3 separate regions of the Homo sapiens genome follow, and regions 2 and 3 are each linked to region 1. The links are contacts of gene promoters, found by promoter capture Hi-C in human tissues and cell types (Jung and others, 2019). All regions are on one chromosome and are shown on one strand. Each heading gives the region's core, a stretch centred on a gene start or on the middle of the fragment in contact. The rest is flanking DNA. Distances are from core to core; before and after follow the strand shown.

Region 1 (4,763 bases), core at 1,191-3,690:
TGGTCTTTAACCCAACAAACATTTCTGCTTTCATAACCTGGGTTCCAATGTGCTAAAATAAAGAAGTGACTATATAGGTATCACTTTGTGAACTGTCAGGTACCCTAAGCAGTTGTATTTCTCTCTATAAACAAATCACCTGGCATTTGATCTGTATATCATCCTCCCATCAGTCTGACTGCTATACCCAAGTCCTAACCCACCAAGTGCCTTCTATGGACATCTGTTCATCTCTGTGAGCTCAGACAACAAAGTTCTGAACCTGCAAATATGCAGATCAAAACCTTGACTCCATGGCCGGGCTCAGTGGCTCACTCCTGCAATCCCGGCATTTTGGGAGGCCGAGGTGGGCAGAACACCTTAGGTCAGGAGTTCAAGACCAGCCTGGCTAACATGGCGAAGCCCCGTCTCTACTAAAATTACAAAAATTAGCCACACGTGGTGGCAGGTGCCTGTAATCCCAGCTACTCGGGAGACTGAGATGGGAGAATCGCTTGAACCTGGGAGGTGGAGGCTGCAGTGAACTGAGATCATGCCACTGCACTCCAGCCTGGGTGACAGGGAAAGACTCCATCTCAAAAAAACAAAAACAAAACTTGACTCCACACAAAGATACTGCGAGCCTCCCTCAGGTTAGGTGGTTCAGTTTCCATTCAATGACCATTTTAACCAGCTTCTAACCACAAGGGATCTGAACCTTTAGGGCAACATTCACTGGTCCAGCTCAACTAATGTTTACTGGGTGCTCACTGTGTATCTGGCACTGTGATAAGCACAGTACATCTCATTTAATCCCCAAAATTGGGCCCATTATTATCCCTATTTTACAGATGAGGTCACTGAGGCTAGGAGAGGTTAAGTAACTTGCCCAGTTTCACAGCTGGGAAGCTGTGTTGGAACCTAGACAAAATGAATCCAGCGCCTATTCTAACCAGTTATCCAAACAATATCCTACCAGGTTTCCCTGCTTCCAGTCCCATCGAATATACATGCCAGAGCTAGAGCAATCTTTCTAAACACCACTAAGCTTATGTCATTTTGCTGGTTAAAATCCTTCAGTGGGCAGGGTGTGGTGGCTCACGGCTGTAATCCCAGCACTTTGGGAGGCCAAGGTGGGTGGATTAACTGAGGTCAGGAGTTCGAGACCAGTCTGGCCAACATGGTGAAACCCCGTCTCTACTAAAAATACAAAAAATTAGCCAAGTGTGGTGGCGGGTACCTACAATCCCAGCTACTTGGGAGGCTGAGGCAGGAGAATCGCTTGAACCCGGGAGGTGGAGTTTGCAGTGAACCCTGATCGATCCACCGCACTCCAGCCTGGGCAACAAAAGCAAAACTCCGTCTCAAAAAAATAAAAATAAATTAAATTAAATCCTTCAATGACATGCCTCACCACCACTGAGGTAAAATTAACATGCAAGGCCTTTAGTAACTAGCCTCCTGCCAATTCTTCCCGTCTTCCCTTCTTTCTTCCTTTCTCCTCCAGCAACTTTTTCTCAGTCAACAAACGCAGAAAAATCCAGTAACTTTTTAAATCTTGTTACCCTTCAGCCTTTGTTCCTTCAGTTCTCCGGGTCTGTAATATTCCCCCCATTTTCGCCGGGAACATTCTTGCTAATCTTTTAGGAATCTGCTCAGGAACCATCTATTTGAGAAAACATTCTTACCCCGCCCCGCTGCCGTTACTTTTACCGAATGACCACACTGAATTATATTATGTGTCCCCAGCTACCTCTGTGAAGGAAGCAAACATATTTCAGAGAGTAGCCCCAGCGCCTGAGAAGTCAGGCACAGGCAAACACGGAAACGTGATGAGCAACTGAGTGGAGCTCTTCCTCCATTCGCCATCACCCTCCTCCGCCCTCCTCTCCATCCAGCAGACCTAGCGAGACTCTAGCGTGGTCCACGAGCCCCTTCCACCCACTTCCGCCAACTCTTTCTCAGACTCACAAACTTCCGCAAGTCTGAGCCTTTTACCGGGTCCCCCTGCGGCTCCAGTGCCTGCTCCGAAGCCCGGGACATATATTTATTCGGCAAAAGTTAACTTAGTGCCTACTGGGTCCCAGGAATTATGGCTACAGCGGTGTCGAGAGCCGCGGTTCTACCCTCGCCCCTGCCGAGCGACCTCGGCCTCCGACACCGGTTCCAACCTTTTCCTCGACCCCATGCCTAGCCGAACCGCCAAGGTCCTGGTCTTTCCCGCCCAGACCGAGCGGCCTCGGCCCAGGCCTTCACCGCCCTAAGTGGCTCCAACCCACGGCTTCCTCCCCGATCAGTCGCGGTTCCCACTCCACAACAGACTCGGAAGCTCCCGCGCCGCCAGCCTGTGCCCTCCTTACCATGGTGGCGGTTCTGATGGCTCTGATACCCGCCGGATTCGCCTCCTCAGAGGCCTAGCCTCTCTCCCACAGCCGATTTCCCGCCGCCGCTACCGGAAATGCAGCACCACGTAAAATGCGGTCGGGTAGAAACCTACTTCCGGTCCAGCTCACTAGCCCTGGAGTTCCGGCCCCGGAGCGGAGCTTCTGCCGAGCAGAGGCGGGGCCTGGGGACTGGGCGTTAACATCCGGCTTTGACGTAAGGAGAGCCTTAAGTTCCTGTTTGGACACCTTCCTAGCTTAAATCCGTACTGAGAGCTGCTCTGTGTCACACTCATTTCTCTTCACCCCGCCTTTCCCATTAACCTCTCGGTCCTCATTTCCCATCACCCTCCCCGGCTCTCTCCTCTACAGTCACTATTCTTGCTTTTCCCTCCACTGGCTGGACGTGCTCCTTTTTCAGCCCCTCTGCATTTGCTTTCGCCTCTGCCTGGAATGGTAGTCCCCAAGGTATACCAGAAGGCTGCTGCCCTCACCTCTTTCAAGGTTTAAGCTTAAATAACATTTTCCCAGTGAGGATTTCCCTAGCCATCCTGTAACCTTCCCACCCACCTCATCCTCATCTCTCCTGTATTTCCCTCTTGCTATCTAACACGCTGTATATTTTTGTTAGTTATTTTATTATCCCCTCCCCATTAGAATGTAAGATCCATAAGGGTGTGAATTTTTCTCTTTGTGTATTACTCATTGCTGTAGTGCCTAGAACACTTTAGCACAAAATAAGGGCTCTACCCATATTTGCTGATAATCGCATCCAGTCGTATGACATTTATTTTTTTTCTATGACTTTTTTTTTTCTTTTGAGACAGAGTCTCAGTCTGTCACCAAGGCTGGAGTGCAGTGGCACAATCTCGGCTCACTGCAACCTCTGCCTCCCCGGTTCAAGCGATTCTCCTGCCTCAGCCTCCCGAGTAGCTGGGAATACAGGCCTGTGCCACCACACTCGGCTAATTTTTGTATTTTTAGTAGAGACGGGGTTTTGCCATGTTGGCCAGGCTGGTCTCGAACTCCTGACCTCAACTCCTGGTCTCGAACTCCTGATCCACCCACTTTGGCCTCCCAAAGTGCTGGAATTACAGGCGTGAACCATCACACTGGGCCCTTCCTATGACTTTTAAATACAGCATATACACCCAAGGCTTTCAAGTTTGTTCCTCTAACCTTGGTCTCTTCATTTAACTCTTGGCCCTTTATATCCAGCTGCCAGCGTGATGTGAATGTCTAATAGGTATACCAAATTTAACATGTTGAAAACTGAATTCTTGATTCTATTCACTGTTTCTAAAACCACTTCACCAGTGTTCCCCATCCCCGAAGTTTCTTGGATTAAAAAAGAAAAAAAAGAAAATGACAAATTTGAAGCATATTTCATTCTTCTCTTTCTCTGCCATCGAATAATCAAATTCATCAGCAAATCCTGTGGCCCCCACCTTCAAATTATCTTGAATATGATTGTTGTCACCCACTCCATTGCGTCCACTCTAGTCATAGCCACCATCGTCTCTGTCTTGGATCATTGAACGAGCCCGTAACTTGTCTCTTTGCTTCCTTTCTTGTTCTCACGGCAGCCAGAGGGATCCTTCTAAACGTACTGGGATATCAGATGATGTCATGTCCTGGTCTCCACTTACCAAAAACTTCCCAGCACACATGGAATAAAATCTAGCTCTGCGCTCCTCTCCAACCTCATTCATCTCCGTCAACATTGCCCTCATTCATCCTTCTCCAGTCACACTAATCTCCTTGCTGTTCCTCAAACCCAGCAAGGAGAGCTTCCACCTTGGTGCTTTGCCATCTTCACACCATCTCTAAAGGGTGTGTTCTGTTGTCCCGTTTCCTGTCACCTGTAGATGAAGAGGCGAAGCCTCATAGAAATGAATTATGTTGCCCAAAGTGGCGGAGTCAGAGTGGGAATATAGGTCCGTCTGGCTCCTCAGCTGTTCATTTGCCCCCACCTTACCCAGCTGCCTAACACTTCATTCATGCATGCATTTAAAATCATTTTTATTTAGCATCTACTAAGGCCATGCACCATTATTGGGATAGAGTCCTTTCCCTCACGGAGCTTTACATCCTACTGAGAAAGACATAGTAAACCAAATAAATAAGTATGCAATGTAACATTAGAGTGATATGAAAAAAATAAATAAAGGCAGAGGAACTGAGAGGGATAGGGTACAGTTTTGGCTAGGTGGTCAGGGGAAACTTCTCTGAGGAGTGGTATGTGAGCAGAGACCTGAACCTACACTCAGGTCTATCAGAAGGATGAATATTATGAAGGACATTCTAGAAAATGTATATAAAGGGAATCATATAATAATACGTGGTCTTTTGTGACTACCTTCTTTCACTTAGCACAATGTTTTTAAGGCTCATCCATGTCAT
Region 2 (4,714 bases), core at 88-2,587, 510 kb before region 1:
AGGTCAGGCCCTCTGCTAAACTTAGAGGATGCAAAGACAAGGAAGTCTCAAAGTGCAGGGTGGTGGGGTGGGAGAATACACACAAAATAATGTGAAATATAACAGTGCAAATGAAAACAATGGGGTAGGAATCTAATGAAGGAAATGATGGTATCTTTGAAGTCAGAGAGGACCTGGGTTCAAATCCTGTTTCTTTCAACTCCTAGCTTTGGACAGTAATATGCAAAGACTATTTTTAGGCTTAAACTAGTTAAAATGACAGGTAAAAAATACCTGGAAACAAGTAAAGTTTCCTGTTTCCAGGATTCTCACAATTGCAGCCCAAGGGCCAAATATGGCATATAGAAGGTCTTGTTTGGTGCATCCAGTATTTTTGAAAAAAAAATTTAGTAGAGGAATTAGGATGGCTTAGACCAATAGATCCTGGTTGCCCAACTTAAACCCCTGGAAATATATTTGTTCCTCTAGAAGAGATCTGGGTTCATTCACTGACTTCTCCTTCTGGTCAAGGTGGAATAACAGAGAATGGGTTTATCCTCTTAGCTGAAACAAAAAAATCTGGGGAAAACATATGAATCAACAGTTTTCAAGACATTGGACATCAGGCAACACAGAACCGTGATCCCTGAGAGAGAGAAAACAAAAGAGAGCCTAGCAATTGCCTCTGCTTACTATCTGGAGAGAGTTTTCAGGCCACGGCACAGGACAGGGAGTCCAGGTAGGGCCCGGGGGTCTTCCTGAGTTGAAGAGATGGAGCTGGGTGGCTGCTATGGTTAGAATGTTTTTGTCCCCTGTAAAAAATTATGTTGAGGCTGGATACAGTGGCTCACGCCCTTAATCCCAACACTTTGGGAGGCCAAGGCAGGAGGATTGCTTGAGGCCAGGCGTTCAAAATAAGCCTGTACAACATAGTGAGACCCCATCTCTACAAAATAAAATTTTTTTAAATAGCCAGGCATGGTGATGCACACCTGTAGTCCCAGCTACTCAGGAGGCTGAGGTGGGAGGAACACTTGAGTCTAGGAGACTAAGGCTGCAATGAGGCATGGTTATACCGCTGCACTCCAGCCTGGTTAACAGAGCAAAACCCTATCTCCAAAAAAAAAAAAAAATTAAATTTATGTTGAAACCTAACCCCTAATGCAATAGTGTTGGGAGATGGGGCCTTTTGGAAGGTGTTTAGTCATGAGGACTCTGCCCTCATGAATGGATTAATGTTGTTATAAAAGGGCTTCATGAAGGTAGTCTATCCTTTTGCCCTTCTGCCCTCTGCCATATAAGGACATGGCATTTCTCCCCTCTGGAGGACACAGCATTGAAGGCGTCATCTTGGAAGCAGAGAACAGCTCTCACTAGACATCCAACACTGGCATCTTGATCTTGAACTTCCCAGCCTCTAGAACCATGAGAAATAAATTTCTGTTCTTTATAAATTACCCAGACTTGGGTATTTTTGTTGTAGCAATGCAAACGCATTAATCCAGAGGCCAAGGTGTCTGGAGTTCACAGGGCAGAGTATCACTGAGAAGAGAGCTTGTGGGGAGGAGCAGGTTCAAGAGCACAGGTGACCTCTGGCGATCAGCAGAGAGCCCCTCCTGTCTTCTGAGTACTAATGAGCATGTGCATGTATGAAACCTACCTGAGGAGCAAAGAACCACCTGATTAGATTAGAGGGAACAACCCCAGGTTCCCCCACAGGGCTGGGAATAGTCTCTGTTCTTAGGAGCCAGAGTGAAAAATCTCACAGGGCTTTAGGCAGAGGATTCACAAGGTTTCTTCCTTAGTAGCTGGACAAAATTTGCTCTAAACATGGATATGGTTCCATCTAAAAATGTTTAAAAGCAAAGATTAAACTAATTCCAAGGAACTTGACTGTGTCCCAGAAAAAAAAAAATCAAACATATTTATAGAAACACACACAAAAAAACCTAGCACATGATGATGTAAATTCAGTGTCTGGTATCCATTAAAAAAATTGCCAGGCATGCAAAGAAGCAAGGAAATTCAATCCATTAATGAGGAGAAAATTTGATCATTGGAAACTGACCCGGAAATGACACAAATGATAGAACTGATAAATAAAGACATTAAAACCATGATTATAGCTGTATTTCATAGGTTCAGGAAACTAGAGGAAGGACTGAGTTACTAAATTGTGATATGGAAGACAGCAAAAAGGCTCGTATAAAAAAGATTAGTGAAATTAAATATATAGCAAGAGAAACTATCCAGAATGAACCATAGAGAAAAAAAAGACTGAAAAAAAAAAATGAACAGAGTATCAGCAAAATGTGGGACAACTTCCAGTATAATATACATATACACACAACACACAACACACACACCCTCACACATAGGTATGTGTATAAGCAGATAGACATATTTATAAGCAGATAAATATATACATATGTGTATATATGTGTGTGTATATATAGATCAAATATATATATATATATATATGAGAGAGCTTGAAGGAGAAATAATGGTTGAAAATTTGCCAAATTTGATGTAAACAAAATTCACAGACTGAAGAAACCCAGTGAACCCCAAGCACATTAATTCATCACAGTCTCTACCTTCTACTTCCGACTGATATTATACCACTTTGCCTTACGAGATTATACTTGAGACTCTCACAACATTAAGCAAATGACACCAAGGGCCATTATAATCAAATTACTCAAAACTAGACATAAACTAAAAACCTTAAAGGCAGCCAGAAAATAAAAAACCCAGGTTATATATACACATGAACAAATATAAGGCCGGCATCAGATTTCTCAAAAGAAACAATGCAAGTAAGAAGACAGTAGAGTAGCATCCTTAAAATGCTCAGAGAAAAATAAAGTCAACCTAGAATTCTACATCCAGCAAACATGTCTTTTTAAAAATGAAAGCCTGGGCAACGTGGCAAAACCCCATCTCTACAAAAAACACACACACACACAAATTAGCCGGGCATGGTGACACATGCCTGTAGTCCCAACTACTCAGGGGCTGAGATGGGAGAATCACCTGAGCCTGGGGAGATCAAGGCTGTAGTGAGCCAAGATCATGCCACTGCATTCCAGCCTGAGTGACAGAATGAGAACCTGTCTCAAAAAAAAAAAAAAAAAAAAAATCAAACTAAAGATGTTTTCAGATATCCAAAGGCAGGAAGAATTCATCACCAGCATACCTGTATAGAAAAAAAGTGTTGATAAGTCCTTTAGGCAAAAAAAAAAAAAAAAAAAGATACCAGATGGGAGTCTGACTCTACACAAAGGAATGAAGAGCACTGGAAATGACAACTATGGGCAAATAAAACCCCTCTTTTCTCTTACTTTAAAAATCACTTTAAAAACAAATTTGACTATTTAAAGCAAAAATAACAACAGTGTACTGTGGAGTTTATAATATATGAAGCAATACTATGTATAACAAAAACAATACAAAGGCCAACAGGGGAGAAATGGGAGTATAATGTTGTAAGGTTCTGATTCTGTATGTGAAGTGGTATAATATCATCTGAAAGCAGACTGTGATAGGTTAGAGATGTGTATTATAAACTCCAAAACAACTGCTAAAATAATTCAACAAAGAATTATAGCTAATAAGCCAACAAAAGAGATAAAATGGAATCATAAAAAATATTAATCTAAAAAAGAAGCAGAACAAAAAAGAAACAAATAACAAATGGGGGAAACAGAAAATAAATAGCAACATGGTGGATTTAAACCCAACCATATCAATTATCACCTTAAATGTAAATGGTCTAAACACCCAAATTAAAGAGGCAGAAATTATCGGATTGGAACTTGCCGAGGTCATCTCCTAGACAGAGGTGGGGGTGGGCAGCCCTGGCAGCTGTGCTCTAGCATCTCATTTTGTTGCCTCTTAGACATGTGGTCCCTTCTCTGTGGGCCAAAATGGAAGTCAGGACGCTTTATGCCAGGAGTAGAGAGTGGAGACTTCCCAACATGTACTATGGAATGTCAATGCACAGCAGCACTGAATTAATCTCAGACAGCAGCTGCTAGCACCTCTGAATGAGTCTTCATTCACCACCACCTTCTCCCCGAGATCACTGGCTCTGATTCCGGAGTTCACCTGACTACCATAATCCTAGCAGCTGGGTAACCTCTGGGCGGCCCATCCCACCCTCAGGACAGTGATCTGCCAGCCAGCATTACAGACAGGATCTCCCTGTCAAGACAAATGCTTGGAAACCAGCCCTAAATGCCAAGCAACCAGATTGTTTTCCCCACTTGATGTCATGTGAGACTTTGTCCAATGTCTGCAGAGCTTCTCCCATGGCAGGATAAGCGGCCAGGCTGGACACACAATCTCAGAGGACCCAGACATCCATAGAGATATTTCGTTCATTCATTCATTTGTCCATAGAATGCTTATTGAGTGAGTACCTTCTGTGTGTCAGGCACTGTTTTAGACACTGAGAAAGCAGTGAAGACTGTGAAAAGGCTTGTGTCTCCCAGGGGCTTGCGGTCTAGTGAAGGGAGACAGACAGATATGCAATGAAATATGATGACTGGTAAAATAGCAATCCTGACAAGGTCTGATGGATGCACCCAACCAGGTTTGGAAGGATGAGCAAGAGTCTTCTCGGGGGACAAGGCAGGGAAGGCCACCACAGGCAAAGTTCCAACAGTTACAAGGTGGCAAAAGTGAGTAGAAGTGGGATGTGTTGGGAATGTCTGGGGCTCTGGTCTGCAAG
Region 3 (4,651 bases), core at 847-3,346, 580 kb before region 1:
CCGGGGGATTTGAACCCACGGAGTTCAGCCCATGTTCTCAAGTGTGGCACCTTCCCTGCCCCCCTGCACAACAGCAGGGCCATGCCTTCACCAGGAGGCTCGGGGCAGGAGGGGAGGCAGTGGTGTTACTTTGCACAGGTCTTTAACCTGGGAATCAGGAATTCAAATCTTGTTTCTACCCCAAGCTTTGCTGTGTGGCCTTAAGCAAACCTATTCCCTCTCCGGGCCTCAACTTTCTGTCCATTTACAGGGTTGGGCCTTCTCTCACCTTGTGTCATTCCTGTCCTCTTAACCGCCACTGTGTGAACCAAAATTCTCTCCCATTAGCAGCGGGGTCTTGAACTTGTGTTCCTCCCACAGTGCGGAGCCTTCTGCCAGGTGACCACGACACTGGCACTCCCCATCACTGACCTGGCTACTACAGGAACGGCGTTCCCTCCGGGAAAACCGGGGTTCTGTCCTCTCCAACTCCAGGCCTCTGGCCCCGGCTCCCCTTCCCCTCATCTTCCTCAGGGCTTGTCCTTCTCCCGGAACCCAGGCCTTCAGGGCCCCGCTCTCCCACACACGCCCCGGCCTGGGCCTCCCACCCGCCCAGTCCGCCCTCCACCACCGAGACACCTGGCCAGGGGGCCTCCACCTCCCTGGGAAGGCCCCGACCCTTCCCCTCTGGTTGCGCGCCACAGCCCCCTTCTCGCTCCCTCTCCTCCCCGCGCCTCTTTTCCAGGCGGCACCGAAGTCCTTCCTACACACACGCTATTTTTGTACCATCATCTCTTCTTCCTCTCCCCTTCCCCCTGCGTTCACTTACTTCCTTCTTTTCCTTCACCTCGGCCCGGCTCTGAAAGGATCGGGCCCCTCCGGCCCGCACCCACCCCCAAGAGGGGCCTTCAGCTTTGGGGCTCAGAGGCACGACCTCCTGGGGAGGGTTAAAAGGCAGACGCCCCCCCGCCCCCCGCGCCCCCGCGCCCCGACTCCTTCGCCGCCTCCAGCCTCTCGCCAGTGGGAAGCGGGGAGCAGCCGCGCGGCCGGAGTCCGGAGGCGAGGGGAGGTCGGCCGCAACTTCCCCGGTCCACCTTAAGAGGACGATGTAGCCAGCTCGCAGCGCTGACCTTAGAAAAACAAGTTTGCGCAAAGTGGAGCGGGGACCCGGCCTCTGGGCAGCCCCGGCGGCGCTTCCAGTGCCTTCCAGCCCTCGCGGGCGGCGCAGGTCCGGGCCCGGCAGGGACGGGGAGGGGCAGAGCGGGACCGGTCGGGGCTGGGGACCAGCCGCGCGGGCTTCTGAACGGGCACGCTGTCGGAGCCGGAGGCTCGTCTAGTCCCGAGCCCCAGCGGGCCGCGGCGGCTCGCGGGGCCGCCTTCCCGGGACAGCAGCCGGGGCCCGGGCGCCGGCGCGGGGGAGGACGCTGCCCTCCCCGGCCGGGCGCGCAGCTCGCAGCCCTCGCTCCCTCCCCCGGGGCGCGCAGGCGGGCGCTCGCTCGCAGAGAAGGTGCCGGCGGGGCCGGAGCCCCGAAGCCTCCCCGGGCGGCGGGAAGACGGGAGGAGGGGAAAGGGAAGGAGGGAGGGGGTCGGGCTGCCGGGAGGGCGGGGGCAGCGGCCGGGACTGCGGGCCGGGAGCGAGCCCAGCCGCCCGCGCCGTGTGGAGCCCGGGCGGGGCAGGTGGGCAGCGGCGGGGGCGGCTCCGCGCGGCCGGGCTCGGCCGTGCTGCCCCTCGCCCCTGCTCGCGCGGTCCTCTCTCCCGCGCGGTCTGTCGGTCTGCGCGCCGCCTCGCTCCTCGCTCCTCGCTCTCCCCCTCTTTCTCCCCCTCTCGCCTCTCCGTGTCTCTGGCTCTCTGCCTGGCTCCCTTGGGTCTGTTTCTCTCTCCTGCCGCCTCTCTCTGGCCGCCCCTGGCTTTATTTCTCGCGCGCTTGGGGTCTCTCCCAGTCTCCGTCTCTCCATTTCTCCTGGGGGGCGGGGAGGGGGGGTCTCCAAAAACCGCGGCGGCGGCGGCGGCCGCTCCAGGCGCCCGTTCCGGAGTCGGGGGGAGGCCCAGCCGGGAGGGGGGAAGGGGGGGAGCCTTAGTCATTTCCCCGCTCCAGCCTGCTCCCGCCCGAGCGCGCACTCACGGCCGCTCTCCCTCCTCGCTCCGCAGCCGCGGCCCATGGAGCCCGCCGGCCCGGCCCCCGGCCGCCTCGGGCCGCTGCTCTGCCTGCTGCTCGCCGCGTCCTGCGCCTGGTCAGGTAAGCACCCCCCCGCTCCCCACCGCTGCACTCCCCAAACTGCGGGCTCAGGCCTCTCAGACTGGCACTGGGACCCCTTCGGCTAATGCCGAGCAGTAATAGGGGGAGAGACGCCTGTAACCAGGGTTATAGATGCAGAAACTGAGGCCCAGAGAGGGCCAGCGACATGCCCAAGGTCACACAGCCAAGGGTAGAACCCAAGTCTCTTCTATGAGAGTTTGTCTCTGTGGACTCTGACTCTGTGCACTGTGCTGGGCACTGAGACAAAAGAGCCGAGTTGCTTCACTCAGCCCCTGCCCGGTCCAATGGGGAAGGCTGACTGACAGTGGCTTTCAGAGCAGGGCCGTCCGGCTTCCCCAGAATCTGTCCCCATGGACATACGACTTTCCACATGTTTGACTTCAGGGTGTGAGGGGAGGAGGTGAGGGCAGAGGTCCTCCCGATGCTGCCTGGAATGGAACAGAGACAAGCTGTTGCAATTAGGGAAGAGTGAGCCCTCCCTCTGGTGCGCAGAGTAAACCGGTGTTAGTGTGTGCCTGGGAGAGAGGGAGCCGGGAGGCCGCGGTAACCCCAGAGCGAGCTGCTGCGAGCAACAGATCCTTATGTAAAAACACGGTGGATTGTCCCTGTGGTTGCCAAAGCCTCTCCCTGGTGGTCTTGCTCCTTGAGGCGCTCCCAGCTCCCCCTTCCTCCTGCCTTCCCCGAGCTTCCAGGCAGCTCCCTGCAGTTCAGGTGCTCCGCGGGGATGTTACCTGTGGCTCTGACCATGTCTTTCTGTTGGCCTACATCAAACACCTGGCTGTCGCCGGCAGGCGGGCTCTGAAGGCTACTGTGCATGTTCACCAAAGGGTGAGGTCACCATTCAGGAGTCTTGCTTCTTAAATGGGTTTTGCAAAACCATGGGTCTCCTGGGAGGGCACCGGGTGGGGGGCGGGGGGAGCAGAGAAATGGCATTAAGGGAGTTGGGAGGGAGAGAAAAATGGGGATCTTGTTTTTTGTCGTCTTGAAACTGTGTTGTAGGCAGTGGGGTCTCTCTGTACCTCCCACCCTTGAGGAGGGAGGTAAAGATGAGCTCAGTGTCCAACACCCCCTTTTGCGTTTGACTAGAGATGGTAACCATCTGATAGCAGGGAGAAAGGGAGAACTAGCAAAGAGTGGGTGGAAGGAGAAGTATGGGGGGTAGACAGCTGCTTCTCTCTGCCCTGCAGTTTCCCCTGAAACCCAGGAATTCACATAGGCATCCCCCCACCCCACCCCACCCTCCACCCCCAGTTCTTTTCAGTTATAGTTGCGTCCTTGCTGGGCTGAAGGGAGCACTGATACAGTTCACGTCTCTCCAGTGAGTGGCATCTCCTATCTGCTCCTTCCTGCCTGAGCTGGCCATTTGTACCCTGCAAAAGTCCGAGTTCCTGCCCTGCCATCCTTCCTGGCCTGGAAATGCACAAGTGTCACTCACAAGTGCTTAATTTTCCTGAAGCAGGGAATTGGGCCCGAGTTAATTTCTAAATGTCTATTCCAGACCCTTCTCCGACCAGGAGGCTGTGGTTCAGTCCCTGGCAAACGAGCAGTGACGCTGATTAGCAAGTGCTCCGATGGGCAGCCTGCCTTTCCTGGGGCACCGGCTGGGAACACCAACACCTTTCTTGTGAGCACATCTCCCCCTTTTGCCTATAAAAACAGTCTATAAGATGGTAAAGATTGGGCCATAAAACTTCCGTTCCAATCCATTCAGCATCAATAGCCTGAAAAAGTGGGAGCAGCAGAGGGGCCAAGATTAGCTTTGAAATAAATAAATCTTAGGAGGTAAGAATGAATTTCTTGGTCGAGGGTGGTGGGGAAGGGATGAGGTGCGACCATCATAGCTCAAGTCTCCCATTATCCTTCAGTATCTGTTCTTCGGGGTCCTGGTCACACCATGGGCCTGGGCAGGGAAGTCACCTGGTTTGGCTGAAGGATGGGGCCTCAGGCCCCTCCCCCTATTGCTCCAGACATGGAATTTACAACAAAGAAGTAGAGAGACAGGATATGAGGGTAGGAAGGTACAAGGAGGCAGTTGTCCAATTTTCTAAGAAAATGGATTTGTTCGAGTGAGAAACTAAAATGTCAGGTTTAGGAAGGCGGCTTTGGATTGAATGACTACTAGTGTCTCAGGCAGAACTGTCAGCCTGGGAGGTGTCACATGATTCCTGTGTCTTCACATGATCACTGTTTTGGGGGGGTGGGGCCAATCATGTGAATTATCCTGGGTGGGGGAGGCAAGAGAAGAAGTTTCTAAAGATTGCTTTTAGCACAAATGCTGCCAAAGGGAAATTCTAAAAAGATCCCAGTGAAGTCACCAACCTATGTTTTTGGACCCAATGTGAGGCCTGTTTCCTAAAACAACTGCACTGAGGGAGATTCTGAGGCTGGGAGAAGGGCAAGGGACTGAGGCCTGG

The links. Contacts are between HindIII fragments. The study calls those that stand out against the background at their distance.
Region 2: a fragment that was not itself captured here is called in contact with the fragment with the promoter of SNRPB in region 1 in 3 of the 25 tissues and cell types used here (hippocampus, lymphoblastoid cells and mesendoderm cells).
Region 3: a contact is called between the fragment with the promoter of SIRPA here and the fragment with the promoter of SNRPB in region 1, in 3 of the 25 tissues and cell types used here (aorta, dorsolateral prefrontal cortex and lymphoblastoid cells).

The regions. Positions count from the first base shown.
Region 1 is chr20:2,468,349-2,473,111 of GRCh38, forward strand. SNRPB (small nuclear ribonucleoprotein polypeptides B and B1) reads right to left here and starts at 2,441. Exons shown (of 7, transcript NM_003091.4): 1 at 2,340-2,441. The coding sequence starts at 2,342. RefSeq lists enhancers at 2,061-2,180, 2,341-2,390, 2,401-2,450. The HindIII fragment of the contact is 7,557 bases long and covers 445-4,763 here.
Region 2 is chr20:1,957,340-1,962,053 of GRCh38, forward strand. All of the region lies in intron 2 of PDYN-AS1 (PDYN antisense RNA 1), which reads left to right. Among named protein-coding and RNA genes, the nearest start is that of PDYN-AS1, 12 kb to the left of the region's middle. The HindIII fragment of the contact is 7,949 bases long and covers 1-4,714 here.
Region 3 is chr20:1,893,311-1,897,961 of GRCh38, forward strand. SIRPA (signal regulatory protein alpha) reads left to right here and starts at 2,097. Exons shown (of 8, transcript NM_001040023.2): 1 at 2,097-2,216. The coding sequence starts at 2,138. It overlaps LOC102724545 (a long non-coding RNA gene), which reads right to left and starts at 940. Exons shown (of 4, transcript NR_186374.1): 1 at 809-940. RefSeq lists silencers at 1,061-1,320, 1,331-1,450 and an enhancer at 2,742-3,257. The HindIII fragment of the contact is 18,060 bases long and covers 1-4,651 here.